4 separate regions of the Homo sapiens genome follow, and all the other regions are linked to region 3. Evidence: promoter capture Hi-C in 16 types of primary human blood cells and fetal thymus (Javierre and others, 2016). All regions are on one chromosome and are shown on one strand. The core of a region is centred on a gene start or on the middle of the fragment in contact, and the rest is flanking DNA. Distances in the headings are between cores, read along the strand shown.

What was found. Contacts are between HindIII fragments. The CHiCAGO score rates a contact against its expected background, and 5 or more counts as called.
Region 1: a contact is called between a fragment that was not itself captured here and the fragment with the promoter of TXNDC11 in region 3, in 5 of 17 cell types (naive CD4 T cells, naive CD8 T cells, monocytes and 2 more). The highest score is 6.4, in naive CD4 T cells.
Region 2: a contact is called between a fragment that was not itself captured here and the fragment with the promoter of TXNDC11 in region 3, in 1 of 17 cell types (activated CD4 T cells). The highest score is 5.1, in activated CD4 T cells.
Region 4: a fragment that was not itself captured here is called in contact with the fragment with the promoter of TXNDC11 in region 3 in 1 of 17 cell types (monocytes); the score reaches 5.5 in monocytes.

Annotation. Positions count from the first base shown.
Region 1 is chr16:11,403,669-11,406,522 of GRCh38, reverse strand. It overlaps LOC400499 (putative uncharacterized protein LOC400499), which reads left to right. Exons shown (of 67, transcript NM_001370704.1): 48 at 1,657-1,819. Among named protein-coding and RNA genes, the nearest start is that of RMI2, 60 kb to the right of the region's middle. The HindIII fragment of the contact is 554 bases long and covers 1,035-1,588 here.
Region 2 is chr16:11,368,504-11,371,321 of GRCh38, reverse strand. The region is part of intron 1 of LOC105371082 (a long non-coding RNA gene); the gene reads right to left. Among named protein-coding and RNA genes, the nearest start is that of RMI2, 24 kb to the right of the region's middle. RefSeq lists enhancers at 97-597, 783-842. The HindIII fragment of the contact is 1,153 bases long and covers 713-1,865 here.
Region 3 is chr16:11,741,350-11,744,132 of GRCh38, reverse strand. TXNDC11 (thioredoxin domain containing 11) reads left to right here and starts at 1,276. Exons shown (of 12, transcript NM_015914.7): 1 at 1,276-1,656. The coding sequence starts at 1,403. TXNDC11-AS1 (TXNDC11 antisense RNA 1) reads right to left here and starts at 1,119. Exons shown (of 1, transcript NR_186412.1): 1 at 1-1,119. RefSeq lists silencers at 774-1,296, 1,159-1,828. The HindIII fragment of the contact is 4,507 bases long and covers 1-2,014 here.
Region 4 is chr16:11,350,900-11,353,724 of GRCh38, reverse strand. RMI2 (RecQ mediated genome instability 2) reads right to left here. Exons shown (of 2, transcript NM_152308.3): 2 at 1,965-2,825. All of the region lies in intron 1 of LOC105371082 (a long non-coding RNA gene), which reads right to left. Among named protein-coding and RNA genes, the nearest start is that of RMI2, 6.9 kb to the right of the region's middle. The HindIII fragment of the contact is 2,616 bases long and covers 268-2,825 here.

The DNA.
Region 1 (2,854 bases), core at 62-2,561, 340 kb after region 3:
ATGTGGAGGTTGCAGTGAGCCGAGATTGCGCCGTTGCACTGCGGCCTGGGTGACAAGAGTGAAACTCCATCTCAAAAGGAAGAAAAGAAAAAAGAAATCTCTGGGGGAGGGGCATTCGAGGCAGGTAAAGAGACTGTGGTATATATACACCATGGAATATTACACAGCCGGAAAAAAGAATGAAATTCTGTCCTTTGCAGCAGCAGGGATGCAATTATCCTAAGTGAACTAGCTCAGAAACAGAAAACCCAGTATCACATGTTCTCACTTGTAAGCAGGAGCTAAACATTGAATACACATGGACATAAAGATGGAAACAGTAAACACTGAGGGCTCCAAAAGGGAGGAGGGTGAGAGGGAGCCAAGGGTTGGAAAATTACCTGCCTGGTATGATGTTCGATATTTGGGTGACAGGGACGCTGGAAGCCCAGTCCCCACCATTACACAATATACCTATGTAACAAACATGCACACTGACCCCCTCAATCTAAAATACATTTTTTAAAAAGAGTATTCCAGGCAGAGGGAACAAGACATGCAAAGGGCCTGGGGCAGGGATGGGTTTGCATGTTTTAGGAATGGCCAAGGAGCCACTGGGCTGGAGCTGGGTGGGTGGGGAATGGTAGGAGGTGGTCTGATCACACAGGGTCAGTCAGGCCACAGGGAGGCGTTTGCATTGTGTTCTATCTGCTACTAGAAGCCTTTGAAGCCATGATCAAATAAATGATGATTTCAGATCCCTCTGGCTGCTGTGTGGGGAGGGACCTACAGGTGGCAGAAGTGAGCAGTGAGGAAGCCCCATAATGGGCAGGGGCAGGGCAATAATAATGCGTGGACCAAGCTGGGGGCAGTAGTGATAGGTTTTAGAGACGTTTAAGAGCAAACTTCCTTCCCCACCCCAGCAGTCCCCCTGCAGTGCCCTCAAGTCACCCTCGGACTGTGGCACCCACCAGCAGGGACGGCGTCCCTCTCCGAACCTTTGCACAGGCTCTTCCATCTGCCTAGAATGCTCTTCCCTGCCTCCTCCCCAAGCTTGCTTCTCTGCGTTCCTTTCTCCCTTGAATGTCTCTTGTGACCATCCTTGTCACCTTATCCCATCATTTTCTGTCCTGTGACTATCTCGACTATCTCCCTGGGAGCCCCTTAAGGGCCAGGACCAGGTCTTGGCTAGCTTTGTACCCAGGCACTCAGCACTGGCTTGGGAGCATGATACCTGCTCGCTACATGATTGAGAAACCGCAATACCAACTGCGTGCCTCCTACAAGCTCCTCTCCACCGTGTAGCCCTGGGCTGAGTGCACCACTTGTATCATCTTGCAAAGGTTGACACTTTCTGGCCTCCATTTTCTAGGAAACTGAGGCTCAGAGAGGTTGAAAAATGCCCAGAGCCACACAGCTTGGCCATGGAATTGAGAAGTGGCTGTTCTGTGCTGTCTCCTGTTGGCCATACTCCCCTCACCTACTCCTCTCCTTTAAATTATCTGCTCATCCTTAGGAAGCATTTGGGTTTTTGATCCCCTGACATATGTCACCATTCAGGAAACTGTAAATGATCCACAAATATTCCCTTTTTCCTCCTCTGCAAGCTTCTCTTCTTTCCCATCCCAGGCAGAAGCATGGGTCGGGTTCCCCCATGACGCCGTCATTCTCTTCCAGCTCAGCGCTCTTCCCAGGGAGCTGTTCCTGCAGACCGCATACGAGCGAGCTCATGGGACCCGTGTCCTGCGCCAGGTGGTGCTGTGGGATGGCCAGGAGGTGGCCCTCACCGGGAGCCTTTCTGGGCCTTTCCCCAAGCCCACCAGGAACCTCAGCCTGCAGGGTGAGTGTGTGAGGGGCTGCAGGCAGGGGTGGCCCAGTCACTCAAGAAATCATCCCTGGCCAGGCGCGGTGGCTCATGCCTGTAATCCAAGCCCTTTGGGAGGCCGAGGTGGGTAGATCACTCGAGGTCAGGAGTTTGAGACCAGCCTGGCCAACATGGTGAAACCCCATCTCTACTAAAAATACAAAAATTAGCCAGGCATGGTGGCAGGCACCTACAATCTCAGCTACTTGGGAGGCTGAGGCAGGAGAATCGCTTGAACCTGGGAGGCAGAGGTTGCAGAGAGCCGAGATTGAGCCAGTGCATTCCAGCCTGAGCGAGAGTGAGACTCGGTCTCAAAAAAGCCATGACTGAGCACCTGCATATCCCAGGTGTAATCTAGGCACCAGGGGTCCATCAGGAAGCAAGATGGCCCAGGTGTCACCCCTCAGGGAGACAGGCATTGAGCAACAAGATGCACATAAGCAAAATAACGTCAAGCATGACCATTTCCACGAGTGGGAAAGGCTGTGAGAGCAAGCAGGGTCTTTGTGGGGTGTGGGCCTCCTTTAGGTGGGGTGGTCTGGGAAGGCCTCTTGGAGGAGGTGACTTCTGAACTGAGTTCTGAAGGATGAGAAGGAGCTGGCAGATCTGAGCAGAGGCACTTCAGGCGGAAGGCCCCACTTGGAAATGAGGTTTGCATGTGGAGCAGCAGCTGCGGGGCTAGCATGGCTGGAATGGGGAGAAGGGATGAGGCGAGGCAGGAGGGCTGGGGGACCCAGGTCATGCAGCGTCTCAGCTCATAGAGAGGAGCTGGGGCTTATCCTGAGTGCAGCCGGGCAGGGAGAAGGGGCCAGGGCGTGGAAGAGGTGGCATCCCTGGGCAGTTGTGGTGCCAGGGGAGCTGAGTGCCGACACAGCGCCAACAACAGCAGCCATGAGCCCCTGGGTCCTCCAGAAACAGGCATCCCTGGAAGGGGCTGTAATTTGTGGCCTGGGCAGCCACAAGACTTAGTTTCTGTGTAAGGAACCTCCTGAGCACAGAGCAGAGCCCGAC
Region 2 (2,818 bases), core at 40-2,539, 370 kb after region 3:
ACCACTGCACTCCAGCCTGGCGACAGAGTGAGACTCCGTCTCAAAAAAAAAAAAAAAAAGTTTGGGTCGGGCACAGTGGGTCACGCCTGTAATCCCAGCACTTTGGGAGGCCAAGGTGGGTGGATCATGAGGTCAGCAAATCGAGACCATCTTGGCTAACACGGTGAAACCCCGTCTCTACTAAACATACAAAAAATTAGCCGAGTGAGGTGGCGGGCTCCTGTAGTCCCAGCTACTTGGGAGGTTGGGGCAGGAGAATGGCGTGAACACGGGAGGTGGAGCTTGCAGTGAGCGGAGATCGTGCCACTGCACTGTAGCCTGGGCGACAGAGCGAAGGCTCCATCTCAAAAAAAAAAAAAAAAAAAAAGTTTGATCTTAGGCCTTACAATAGTCCAATGAGGAACGGATGATCCCCACTTAATGAGAGAAGAAACAAAGGCTCAGAGAGTTGAGGGGATTTCCCCAAGGTCATACAAGCTACAAACAGCCAGGATGGCACTGACGCGGGCCTGCCTGCCTCCCAAGGCTGCCCAAGCTCACTCAACCCCCACTTCTGCTTTTGCAATAAAAGAAAAGCAAATCACTGGTGCTCAGGGGCCCATGAGCAATTCAGAGTCAGATGCAACTAGAGTGTGCAGCCACCTGACCTGTTGGTTTCTCAATATGCTTAACGGATCCATGATTTCTGGTCCAGAAAGGAAACGCAGAAGCTTTCCTTCCTGCCTCCCACATTCTATGGGTCAAGTATTTACCAAAAACACAGCAGTGGACTGGACACCAGCAGAGATACAAAGAGGGAAACATAGTTCTCCCTTCTCAAGGCAGGTTGGACAACATCAATACTTTCCAACTGGGGGGTGTGGGTGGAGTACTTATGCATGAATTTGAAACAGATAGGAGAGGGAATGATTCCAGCGGAAAGACCAATTCACGTCTACAATATACACTGAACTCCAGCCTGGACAACATAGCAAGACTCTGTCTCTAAAAAAATTTAATCATTAGCCAGGCATGGTGGCACATGCCTGTCTAGGAGGCTGAGGCAGGAGGATCACTTGAGCCCAGGAGTTCAAAATCACAATCAACTATGATCACACCACTGCACTCCAGCCTGGGCATCAGAGCAAGGCCCTATCTCCAAAACAAAACAAGGTAAGATGTTTACATACAAATCAAGGTAAGAAAATCCAAAATAAAATATTACCAAACAAACCCCACTGGGGCCTTAAAAAAAAAGTGACCTAAACCAAGTGAGAATTGTACAGTGTGACAAGGATAGCTCAAAATTAGAACATCTTTTAATTTCAAATATATATATATATATATATATATATATATATATACACACATATTTTTTTTTTTTTTTTTTTTTTCCTGAGATGGAGTCTCGCTCTATTGCCCAGGCTGGAGTGCAGTGGTGCGATCTAGGCTCACTGCAAGCTCCGCTTCCTGGGTTCACTCAGTTCTCCTGCCTCACCCTCCCGGGACTACAGGCGTCCGCCACCACACCTGACTAGCTTTTTTGTATTTTTAGAAGAGATGGGGTTTCACCATGTTAGCCAGGATGGTCTTGACCTCCTGACCTTGTGATCTGCCTGCCTCAGCCTCCCAAAGTGCTGGGATTACAGGTGTGAGCCACTGCGCCCAGCCTAATTTCATTCATATTAATATGTTAAAAATCATAATCATCGTAGATGTTGAAAAGGCATTTGACAAAATTTACTACAAAATTTAGAAAAAAACACATCAAATTAGAAAGAGGGATACTTCCTTAAATTACACACGATAAAGGAAATTACACCCAGACACACACCCATCAAGCCAGAGCCCAGCATCATTTATAGGGGATGGAAGCAACAGAAGCTTCCATTAACCTTCGCAACAAAAGAATGCCCTCTGTTACCACTATTATTTTGGAGGCCCTAGCTGATGAAACTAGGCAAGGAGGAAAGTAAGACATTTAAGAAAAAAGCAGGAGGTAAAATAATTTACTCTGAAAAATGAGGCAGACAGATTTTGCTAAGGAGTTAGGTACAAAAGTAACATAATAAGCAGCCTTCCTTTTTCTTAATTTTTAAAATATAGAGATGGGGCCGGGCACAGCTCACGCCTGTAATCCCAGCACTTTGGGAGGCCGAGAGAGGCGGATTGCTCGAGGCCAGGAGTTCGGTACCAGCCTGGCCAACATGGCAAAACTCCACCTCTACTAATAATACAAAAATTAGCTGGGTGTGATGGCACACACCTGTAATACCGGGTACTCAGAAGGCTGAGGCATGAGAATTGCTTGAACCCAGGACATGGAGGTTGCAGTGAACCGGGACTGCATTACTGCACTTAGCCTGGGTGACAAAGAAAGACCCTGTCTCAAAAAAAAAATAACATAAAGATGCGGTCTTACTATGATGCCCAGGCTGGTCTCAAACTCCTGGGCTCGAGCAGTCCTTCTGCCTCAGTCTCCCTAAGTGCTAGGATTATAGATGTGAGCCACCAAGGCTGGCCTCAGTCCTCCTATGTACAAACAAGCAGTTAGAAAAGTTAACAGAAGAAAACATCCCATTTGCAACAGCACACTCCCAAAAAACAAAATTCTCAGAAATAAATGTGCAAAAATATACACACACAATCCATATGAAGAAATCTTTCAAATGCTGCTGAGGGATATGAAACACTTTGAATGCAAAGAAGGCCATGCTGCATGTGTTATCGAGAAACGTTCAACATTAAAAAGATGTCACATCAATATCAAGAGGGGGTGTGTGGAAATGGAGGCTCCACACATGCTGGGGGGAACGTGGCGGCATGGCAACTCCAAAAC
Region 3 (2,783 bases), core at 27-2,526:
GAGCCCAGGAGTTCAAGACCAGCCTAGGCAACATGGAGAGACCTTGTCTCCACAAAAAAAAAAAATTAGCTGGGCGTAGTCGCACACATCTGTGTTGCCTACTACTTGGGAGGCTGACGGGGGTGGATCGCTTGAGCTGGGGTTGTCAAGGCTTCAGTGTGCTATGATTGCGCCATTGCACTCCAGCCTGGGTGACACAAGACCCTGTATCAAAAAACAACCAAAAAAAAAAAAAAAGTGACATATAGAAAAGAAATAGCAAAATGGTCGGTGTACATGAACTCACAACATGTTGGGCCTGGGTGGTTGACACATTAAATGTCTGGCCAATTGAGCAAGACAGCCATTGATTGCCCCATTCTACATCCACAGAAGCAGAACCAGACAGGAAGTGATGAGATTTGCACGTGGGTCACATAGCTGACCTGTGGCAGAGGTGGCGTCTCAGCTACTGGCCGTTAGCTGTGCCTTCTGTTTGTGGCATAACACCATATTGCCTTAATGCCCTCGAAGTTTTATTTGTCTAGTTTGTTGTTATTGACATTGGAGGACAAGTCCTTTTTTTTTTTTTGAGACAAGAGTCTCTCTCTCTCTCTCCCCCAGACGGGAGTGCAGTGGCGCCATCTCCACTCACTGCAACCTCCGCCTCCAGGGTTCAAGCAATTCTCTGCCTCAGCCTCCCAAGCAGCTAGGATTACAGGCGCCCGCCACCACGCCCGGCTAATATATTTGTATTTTTAGTAGAGACGAGGTTTCACCATGTTGGCCAGGCTGGTCTTGAACGCCTGGTCTCATGTAATCTGCCCGCCTTGGCCTCCCAACGTGCTGGGATTACAGGCTTGAGCCACCGCGCCCGGCCGTGTTTTTTTTTTCTTCAGTTAAGTTGGGATAAAAAACGGCACCTACGTGCTTCGGGGCCTGTAGTGAGAATGGTGGACACGATTATTGTCGTTACGGCTCCTAAAACCCAGCGCGGCGAGAGCAGACTACAGCGGTGTCAAGGTTCCAAGTATTCCCCGCGGGCCTTATCCCAAGGGAGCAGCTTCTCCACGCCCCGCGACGGCGCCTGCGCAGACTCCGTGAGCGGGGTCGTGACCGGTGGGGCCAAGACTGGGCTGCGGGCGGGGAAGGCTTCCGTGCATTTACGTAGGGTGCAGGGCGTGGCCCGTTGGGGGCGGGGATTTGGGCGGTGTCGGTGCCCGCCCGGACTCCGTGAGCGGTGGGCGGAGCTGCGTGCTCTGGGGTGTGAGGTGGGGCGGACCCCGCGGCGGCGGCGCGGCTGACGTGGAGCGTCCGGGTTAGCGGGTGCGGCGAGCTGCGGGATTGGGGAGCAACGGGCCGGGCCGGGCCTTCGGGCCCGAGGCGGCGGCGGCGGTATAAAGCCGGCGACTGGGAGCATGTAATGTCGGAATGCGGAGGCCGCGGCGGCGGCAGCAGCAGCAGCGAGGACGCCGAGGACGAGGGAGGGGGCGGCGGCGGCCCCGCGGGCTCAGACTGCCTCAGCTCGAGCCCGACCCTGGCCACAGCGTCCTCGGCGGGCCGGCTCCGTCGCGGGCTGCGTGGCGCCTTCCTCATGGCGCGCCAGCGGCCGGAGCTGCTCTGCGGGGCCGTGGCGCTCGGCTGCGCGCTGCTCCTCGCCCTCAAGTTCACCTGCAGGTGAGGCGGCCCGGACCCTGGGGCCCCGCTAGGGCGCTCCCCTTGCTCTGCCGCCTGGAGCCTGCAGGGCCGGGTCGCAGCGGCCTCAGCCGGGGAAGTCGGGCCTGACCTTGCCCAGGACGGCTGACCCCTCCCGGAACCTGCGGCCACGGCTTCCCACCTTCTCCTCGCCCCGGCCCGCCCGCGGACATTATGGCGAGGCTTCCGGGTGGAGCCCTGCGCCCTATCGTCCCGCTTTAGTGCCGAGGGAGGCGGGTCGGGGGTGCTCCTCACCTGTTGGAGTCACTAGGGGTGGACCTGTCACTTCGGCCCGGGCTGTAGGACCCTCATTTCTCACCGATTTCATTCCCCTTAAGCTTCAGGTGTAGTGATCCACAACCTTGCGAGAGTTCCAGACCCCTTTTAGAATTCCCGCACTCATTGATCTAACGATTATTTTTATTTTGAGACGGAGTCACGCATTGTGTCCCAGGCAGGAGTGCAGTGGCGCGATCTCGGCTCACTGAAACCTCCGCCTCCCGGGTTCAAGGGGTTCTTCTGCCTCAGCTCCTGAGTAGCTCGGATTACAGGCGCGCGCCACCACGCCTGGCTAATTTTTGTATTTTTAGTAGAGACAGAGTTTCACCACGTTGGCCAGGCTGGTCTCGAACTCCTGACCTCACGTGATCCACCCGTCTCGGCCTCCCAAAGTGCTGGGATTACAGGCGAGAGCCCCGCACCCGGCCTGATCTAACGATTATTTATCTGCACCTACTATGTGCCGGACGCTCGTCCGGGTGAACTTTTTGCTCCCTTGAGTGGATGGGACAGTGAACAAGTAAATATAATTTTTTAAAGCTTCAGTGCTATGCAGGGCATAGAAACGATGGCGGTGGGGAAAGACTTCCTAAGGAAGTGACATTTGAAGCTTATACAAAAAGGAGAAGGGACCAGCGCTGGGAAGATCCCGGGGGAGCGTGTCCACGGTAGAGCGAACAGCAAATGCAGAGTTTCTGAGGCTGGGCAAGCTTGGTGTTTCCCTGGAATTGATAAAAAGGCCTGACAGTAGGCTGGGGTGTAGGGGGTAGGAACATGAAAGTTCATGTGTGTCTTTTCAGGAATGTACACACATACAAAATTTGCTGTAT
Region 4 (2,825 bases), core at 326-2,825, 390 kb after region 3:
TACCAAGTGTCACATACCATGTAAAAGTGATCTACATCTTCATTTATTCCTCACACCAGTGCTATGAGCTGGGCATAATCTGCATTTTACAGATAAAGAAACTGAACAATGGAGAGGTTACGTACCTTGCTCATAGTCACACGGCAAGGTTACTTGCAAATGAAGGGCTCAAATTCAGGTTGACAGGACTGCAAAGTTCCTGTTAAAGCTCAGCAATATTGCCCGAAAAATCCCAAACTGTGAACATAAAACAGTTCAAAACAAGCTTCTTGTGGGCAACAAAAATGATGCATACTTTCCAATCTGCCCGGCTTTAAAAAGAAAATAGTTTAAAAGCACAGCACACCCGAGACACTGACAACACTCAGTGCTGGAGACGATGTGGAACAGTGACTCCCCTTCATTGCTGGTGAGAATGCAAAAGCAGACTGGCAGTTTCTACAAGGCTAACCATAGGTCTACCATATGGCCCAGCAATTGCACTCCTAGGCATTTACCCCAATGAGCTGAAAACTTACACCCACTCAAAACCTGGGCATGAATGTTTACAGCAGCTCTATTCATAGTTATCAGAGACTGGAGTCAAGATGTCCTTCAATAGGTGGATTAGATAAAACTATGGTACATCCATACAATGGAACATTATTCAGTGATAAAAAGAAATGAGCTGGCTGGGCGTGGTGGCTCATACCTGTAATCCCAGCACTTTGGGAGGCCAAGGTGGGAGGATTGCTTGAGCCGAGGAATTTGTGCCTGTAGTACCAGCTACTCAGGAGGATGACATGGGAGGATTGCTTGAGTTTGGGAGGTTGAGGCTGCAGTAAGCCACGTTCACGCCACTGTACGCCAGCCTGGGTGACAGGGCAAGGCCCCATCTTAAACAAACAAACAAAAATAAAAAACTCAAAATAAATAAATAAATAAATTAGCTGGGTGTGGTGGCACACATCTGTAATCCCAGCTACTCAGGAGGCTGAGGCGGGAGAATCGCTTGAACCCGGGAGGCAGAGGTTGCAGTGAGCAGAGATCACACCACTGCACTCCAGCCTGGGTGACAGGGTTAGACTCTGTCTCAAAAAAAAAAAAAAAAAAAAAAACAGTACCTAAGGAATTCTTCATGTTTCTATCTTGTAATAAGCACGGGCATTTATTGAAAAAAAAAAAAAAAAAAAAAAGCTAACAAGCTGCAAAAAGACCTGGAGGAGTCCAGACACAATGGCTCACACCTGTAATCCCAGCACTTTGGGAGGCCAAGATGGGAAGATTGCTTGAGCCCAGGAGTTTGAGACCAGCCTGGGCAACATGGCAAAACCTTGTCTCTACAAAAAATACAAAAAAATTAACCAGGCAAGGTGATGCGCACCTGTAGTCCTGCTACCTGAGAGGCTGAGATGGGAGGATCCTGAGCCTGAGAGGTTGAGGCTGTGGTGAGCTGTGATTGTGCCCTTGCACTCCAGCCTGGGCAAGACTGAGATTGTCTTAAAAAAGAAAAAAAAAAAAAGATATGGAGGAATCTTATATGCATAGTAAATGAAAGAAGCCAGTCTGAAAAAATTACTTACTGTATGATCCAACTATATGATATTCTGGAAAAGGCAAAACTGAAAAGAAAGATCAGTGACTGTCAGGGTTGGTGGGGAGGGGTGAATAAGGGGAACCCAGAGGATTTTTAGGGCAGTGAAGCTATTCTGGACGATACTGTAGTGGTGGATACATGTTATTATGCATTTGGCAAAATCCACAGAATGTATAAGAGAAGGAATAAAGCCTAATGTAAACTAAACTTTAGTTAATAAGAATGTAATGTTGGTTTATCAAATGTACCATCCTAATAAAAGATGTTCATAGCTGGAAAAACTGGGAGTGGGGTGTGTGGAGTATATGCGAACGCTGTAGTTTCTCCTCTATTTTCCTGAACACCTAAAACTGTTTTCTTAAGTCCATTAAAAAAAAAAACTCATACAGCCTATTAAAAATTTATTAGAGGTAGAATATCAATAATCCAGGTGAAAGTCTACAACCATGTCAGAACACAATCTAACTCCTTTGATATTTACAATCTCAAAAAATTCAGGCATGGGTACTAAGCAGACAGCAGAAACCCAACATTCAAAACCATCACAGCAAAAAGTCATTCCATACAAAGACAAAAGAACTCTACACCAGGAGGCTCACCATGTCTCGCCGAAAGTTATGAAGTGGAAGTTTAGCTAATGCCTGAAAGGCGTCCTTTATCTTGATGTTTTTCATTTCAACAAGAAATTCTGAAAACGTCTCAACATCTCTGAGTAATGGAAGAAGGCATCACCTTCTCTAGCTAGGAAAAGGGATAGAGCTGCGTCTAAATGTTTGAGTGGTGTCCGAAGCAGAAAGGGAGCTGTTGTCTTTCAGGGGCCGCCATGCCTGCCGTTAGGAAATGCCATTTGACTCGCAAACTGGTTATGGTAGTTGCTGATGAAGAAGATGAGGAGCCAGGATGTCATTCCTTTTTTACACAGTCTGTCTTCCTGCCCATAACCACACTTTAATCACCATGGGCAACGACCGTACTTAAATTTTGCATTGTAAAACAGGGACGCAGCAGTAATGGAAAAAGTATCATCACTCATAAAATTTGGAAAATGCAACATGAGACTTCTGTGTCTGAGAGAGAGAGAGAGAATTAACACACACAAACCAGGAAGGAAAATGAAACACAAGCATCTGCTTTTCATCAGCAAACACAGGCAAAGCAAGGGGCAGCAGAGGCTGTGTCACTGAAGTATCCGAGGATTTAAACATTCCTACATCCGGACTCCTTGGTCAACCAAAGCAAGGCTCTCTGA